2 separate regions of the Homo sapiens genome follow, and region 2 is linked to region 1. Evidence: promoter capture Hi-C in 16 types of primary human blood cells and fetal thymus (Javierre and others, 2016). All regions are on one chromosome and are shown on one strand. Each heading gives the region's core, a stretch centred on a gene start or on the middle of the fragment in contact. The rest is flanking DNA. Distances are from core to core; before and after follow the strand shown. Region 1 holds the start of AFAP1L1 (actin filament associated protein 1 like 1). Region 2 has its middle 30 kb from the start of ADRB2.

Region 1 (2,899 bases), core at 297-2,796:
TACCCCACACCTGCTCCCGGCTCATCCCTGCCCCAGTGCCTGCTAATTGCTCCCATGCCCCTGTTCCCTTCTTTTTTTCCTCCCTTCGGGGGCTCAGCACAGCAAACAGGCAGATGGGGGAGAGGTGTGAGATTATCGTGGGGAGGGGAATGAATTTTCCATTATTAATAACAGCAACAACAACAACACTTCGCCTGTTGGCACAGCACTCACTAGTTTATCTAGTGCCGTCACACCTGTGATCTCTTTGGATCCCAGAGGTGCAGACTGAAACCCTGGGGTTCTGATTCCCAGCCTCTGACACTGTTCACATGTCCAAGCAGGCCACTTCTTTACAGACACACACATGCCCATCTGGCCATTGCCAAAGGCCATGTCTAGACCTTTACTTAAAATGTGCGCTGCCGGGCGCGGTGGCTCACGCCCGTAATCCCAGCACTTTGAGAGGCCGGGGCCGGCTGATCACCTGAGGTCAGGAGCTCCAGACCAGCCTGGCCAATATGGTGAAACCCCGTCTCTGTTAAAAATACAAAAATTAGCCGGGTGTGGTGGCGCATGCCTCTAATCCCAGCTATTCGGGAGGCTGAGGTAGGAGAATCGCTTGAACCCGGGAGGCGGAGGTTGCAGTGAGCCAAGATCGCGCCACTTCACTCCAGCCTGGGCAACAAGAGCGAAACTCCGTCTCAAACAAAACAAAACAAACAGAAAAAAATGTGCGCTAGCCCCCTACGAATGCTGCCCTCTCGGCTTATGTCAATCTCAATTTCAGTAAGTCCCCTCCACTTCTGTGAAACGTCTACCAAATACACTGGAAAAGGGTCGGCAAGGTGCCTTGGAGACCATCTAGTCCAACTTTGTCGCTGGTCCAGAGAGAAGGGCTGGGCCGAGGACACAGCTGGTGCGGGATAGAACCACCCCCGCCTCCTCCCTCCCTGGCGCACACATGCATGCACACGCGCGCCTGCTCACGGCGCTCCTCCTTCTCGCAATGCCCTAGGCAGCTGCAAACTTCGGTCCCCTAGAGCTTCTCCCTAGGGGCTGCCCACAGCGGGTGTTTCGGGAGTTGAACCTGTACACCTTGTTTTCCCCTTTAGAGTGGAATGAGGTGGGAGGAGCTCGCTGTCCTCCGGAAACTAGAGGGGGATCTTTTATGAAGTTACAAATCGTTAGCCTATGAAAACTCTGATTTCACACACGAGAGGCGAGTTGGCCCCAGGACACGGGCGTTGACACGCACCGGGTTGTCCCGGCAGCCGAAGGCACCTTTGCATAAGCGCCGCGTCTCCCAGTCCCCTCCGAGCGTTCCTCAGCCCCCGCCCCACCGCCCGCCTCTCTCCCTCCTCCTCTCCGGCTTCAGATCGTCCAGTCTCCCTTTCCCGCCCGGCGCCGCAACAAGTGCGGGCGTCGCGGCCCCTCTTACCCTGGCCTCGGTCCATGGCGCCGGCCCGGTCCCCGGGGAGCGGGCCGCAGGGCGCAGGGGCTCCGGCGCGGCTGGTAGCGGCCGGCGCGCTGCGCTCTCAGGCCAGCCCAGCGGCCGGCGCTCTCTGCGGTCCCCTCCCCCAGACAGGATGCTCGCCGGCAGCCCCCGCCCCGCCCGCGCCCGCGCCCGCCCCTCAGAGCCGCTCCCGGAATAGACCCGAGCACGCCTCGCCCCCTGGGCCGCAGCCCGCTGTCCCGTGGTGCCGCACACGCCCCGCCGCGCCCTGCCGCTCGCTCGCCCTCCGCGGCGCTCCCACTTGGGCTTGGAGGACCCTTTTCCCCGTCCGCACGCGTTCGTTCCCGCGCCCGCGCGGCCTGCCCCAGCCCGGACCCAGGAGGTGTGCGGCTTTGCTTGCACTCCGCTAGCGATGGGGTCTTACCACCGCACCCCTCAGCCGGCTCCATGCCGGAATGCGGAGACTGTTGGAGCGCGTTTTTATCCTAGGGAATCAAAACCCCCTTCCCTGCAGCCGCCACCCATTTCCTGGCTTTGGGCTTGTCTTCTCCATTCGCCGCGGGTCTTTCTTGAGCACCTTCTAAGCCAGACAGTGGGCCCGCGGCGATGCCGGTGCAATGTCAGTGGTGTTGCGAAAGAGGAGTTAAATAATAACAAAGATCTTCAGAAAGAAAAGCACCTGGGAAAGGGAGAAAGAGAGGCTTGCTGAAAGGTGGGCAAGGGCTTGGGACACTTTCAACTTTTGAGGTTCCTTGTGTACTAAAACGTGAAAACATAACGAGGATCTGGGAGAATTCAGAAAAAGAATAGAAAAATGAGTAACACGTGAAAACATGCAGAACAGGGTGATAAAAAATGTGGAAATGAATACTTTTAGCATACAAAATACAGTGCAATATAAGTGTACTTTTCGCAAGATTGTAGAAAATATTGCTATGACCAGTGTGGAACAGTAATGGGATCTAAGTTTAAAGCTGTATGAAGAATGTCAACTTCTTCACCTTATTAGTATATCCCTGTGAAAATAGGTCTCACTCATTTATACACAATATCAAATGTCTGACTTTAAGACCCTTCATAAAGTCCAGGACCAATTGTTCTCCTAGACACTGCTCCTCCCACCATGGGCCAGGCCATGGTTTTCAGCTTTGAGCTGACCACTGTTCCCTACTTAGAACATTCTGGAACAGGGAACAGCTACCACAGAGGTATGGAGGCAACAAAAGGCCTGGGAAAGACCCTCCTGTACTTTCCTGGACTGGGAATATTTTCTTTTCTTCTTTTTTTTTTTTCTTGAAAAGTCTCCCTTTGTCGCCGAGGCTGGAGTGCAGTGGCGCGATCTCGGCTCACTGCAACCTCTGCCTCCCGGGTTCAAGCAATTCTCCTGCCTCAGCCTCCTGAGTAGCTGGAATTACAGGCGCCCACCATCACTCCGGGCAAATTTTTGTATTTTTAGTAGAGACG
Region 2 (2,899 bases), core at 178-2,677, 470 kb after region 1:
AAAGTAGTTATAAGCCTTTTTCAAGTTTATAGTACACTAACACTAAGCTACCATGAGCCCTCTTTCCAGGTCACTAGATGGATTGCCAACGTGTTAATGAAAAACACCAGTCCCTTGATCCACACTTTTTTCAACAGAAATACATAAGCACAAGCTTCTAATGAGGGTGTCTCAAAACTAAACAATAGTTAGATATTGCCTGCTTGACACTGAATTCTCTTTCCTCAGAAAGAAGACTTCCTAACATCTTGCCAAATCATTAACTTTGCTCTTAAGTCCGTTTGTTAAAATCTGGTTGCTTATAACAAGACACTTGGCTTCTACTGTTTATGGTATTGGGATATTCTTTGGCTTCAAGTAGGAAAATAATCAGAAACATATAAAGCTCAAAAGAACCTTGTAGACTATTTTGATTTCACCCCAGCTAGTGGAGATTAGGAAGCCTGTCTGTGTCTAATTGGGAAGTGATTTACCCAAGGTTACATAGTTAGTAAATGGCAGAGGTAGTATCAGGAAGGAAATCTCCTGATCTCTAGCTACAATTCTAATTAGCATCATGGAATTTGTGCAATTAATTTGTGCTTCCAAATCATAGAGTTCACCCACATATTTTTACATTTGGGGAAACGGAGGTCCAGAAAGGGGAAATAACTGAAAAATGTATAGGTAATTAATAGTACAGCTTAGACGAGGGCTCAGGTGTCGTTACTCTCAGCCATGAAGCTGATCCCATACTCTACTCTGCCCCACCAGAATCCACACTAAAAGGCCAGGAATAGGGTGGGGTTAGTTTGTAGCCAAGTGCAAAATCTAAGGGGTGGCGAAGATAAATAATATCTTAATGTAATATTTTAAAAACCAAAACCAATACATAACCTCCATAATGAATAACATTTTAATAAAGACAGGATCCAACTCTGCACTTATCGTGTGACCTACTCCCTCTCCTCACCCTAATCTTGGCCCTGTCAGGTCCTATATTTATTTAAAACTTTGACATTTTGCTCATCATGGATATTTTTGCATTAATTTTTGTCCCCAAGGCAGGTATGTTACTTACCTCACCCTAACTCCAGCCTTGACTGGGGCCTCCAGTGTCCAGGCCTGGGGAGAACTTATCAGTAAGGTGCCAGGGATGGGCAGATTGCTCACAAGGAGCTACAGGCAAGAGACCTGGCAGTGCTTATGACTAATGGGGCTGATCACATGGACACAAGAGTCCTCCAGCTGGGTCCTGAGGCCATGGAGGAATAGCAACTAAAAAACTGAATGTGACTGAGTAGTAATTACAAAATAGTATTTAAAATATAAGCTCATTTTTATAAATATATACCTGTGTTATCTCTGGATAGTGGTATGATAAATTTTGCACACGCCCCCCCTTTTATTTGCTTCTTTGTATTTTCTGATTTTTCTACAACGTACATGTATGACACATTTTCTTTTCTTTTTTTTTTTTTTTTTTTTTTTTTTTGAGACAGAGTCTTACTCTGTCATGCAGGCCGGAGTGCAGCAGTGCAATCTCCACTCACTGCAACATCTGCCTCCCGGGCTCAAGCCATGCTCCCACCTCAGCCTCCCAAGAAGCTGGGACTACAGGTGTGCACCACCACACCTGGCTAATTTTTGTATTTTTGTAGAGATGGGGTTTCACCATGTTGCCCAGGCTAGTCTCAAACTTCTGGGCTCAAACAATCCACCTGCCTCAGCCTTCCGAAGTGCTGGGATTACAGACGTGAGTCACCATGCCCGGCCAACATAACATTTTTAAAAAGTCTATCATAAAAATATGTATGGATATATCCAACAAATTCTCTTTTGAAAATACTTTGGTCTAATGTCAAAAACAAACTAATATCAGGGGCTGTTATACTTTTTTTTGTTTGTTTTTAGGAAATAACATTTTGTGGAATCTTGGTCAGGTCATTTTCATTTTGCCCAAATTTTCTTACTCCACGTTGCTTTGCTAAGCCCTGTGAATTTATTCATTCATTAATTCATTCACTTACTCATTTGTTCTTCTTAAGAACATCTGTTGAACAGATATTATGTCCCAGATACCGGACTACAATTAATGCTGCAATGTGAATGCATTATAAGTGCTTGGGCCCCCTATTCATTCTCAATTTCTGCAGCAAACTTAAACCTATCTCCAGAGCTCCTGGCCTTGCAGTCATCATTCATTTTTCATAGCCACTCCACAGACATTTTTCATAGTTGCTGCTGATGACACCTCCACCTCCCCAAAACTCTTTTCTCTAACTCCCACCCCATCGGTTCTTTGATTTTATTCCTTCCTCTACATTTCCACAACCACAGCCTTGGTGCATGCACTAGACATTTCGTTCTACAGGTCACCTAATCTAGCAATCTCCAGGCTTTTCTTTACCATGTATCCCTTCTTATAACATTTTTGAACATCCAAGCCAAGTATATATATTTATAAATCATACTAATGTGTCACTTTTAACCCATGTAATACATGTAAATATTAGAATATTAATTTCTTTATGATTTTTGAAACAATATAAATATAAATAGACAACATAATTTTTCCTTCCCACACTGTAGATAAATCATCTTACAGAATCCCTAGAATGTTTGGATTCTACCTCTACTTTATCAGTTCCAAACAGGACAGCAAAAGTGACCTTCTCATGTAATTATCTGTTATGAATTTTATCAAACTGGTAAGCTTACATTGGCCTCATAATAACCAAAAATGCCCCATTCCTGCCTTCACGGTCTATTACTCATTATGTCCCTATTTTCATCTCTGAACAGTCTTAGCTGGTTTTAGGATGAAATCCTTACACTGGGATTTCCCGATGTGTGTTTTATGTGAAAAGAGTCTTGTGGTCAAATAAGGTTGGGGAACTCTGCCAACTTCAGTCTTGTC

The links. Contacts are between HindIII fragments. The CHiCAGO score rates a contact against its expected background, and 5 or more counts as called.
Region 2: a fragment that was not itself captured here is called in contact with the fragment with the promoter of AFAP1L1 in region 1 in 1 of 17 cell types (M1 macrophages); the score reaches 5.1 in M1 macrophages.

The regions. Positions count from the first base shown.
Region 1 is chr5:149,270,506-149,273,404 of GRCh38, reverse strand. AFAP1L1 (actin filament associated protein 1 like 1) reads right to left here and starts at 1,546. Exons shown (of 19, transcript NM_152406.4): 1 at 1,421-1,546. The coding sequence starts at 1,436. RefSeq lists enhancers at 1-485, 486-1,027, 1,028-1,567. The HindIII fragment of the contact is 5,831 bases long and covers 1-2,899 here.
Region 2 is chr5:148,795,415-148,798,313 of GRCh38, reverse strand. No RefSeq gene overlaps it. Among named protein-coding and RNA genes, the nearest start is that of ADRB2, 30 kb to the left of the region's middle. The HindIII fragment of the contact is 2,541 bases long and covers 157-2,697 here.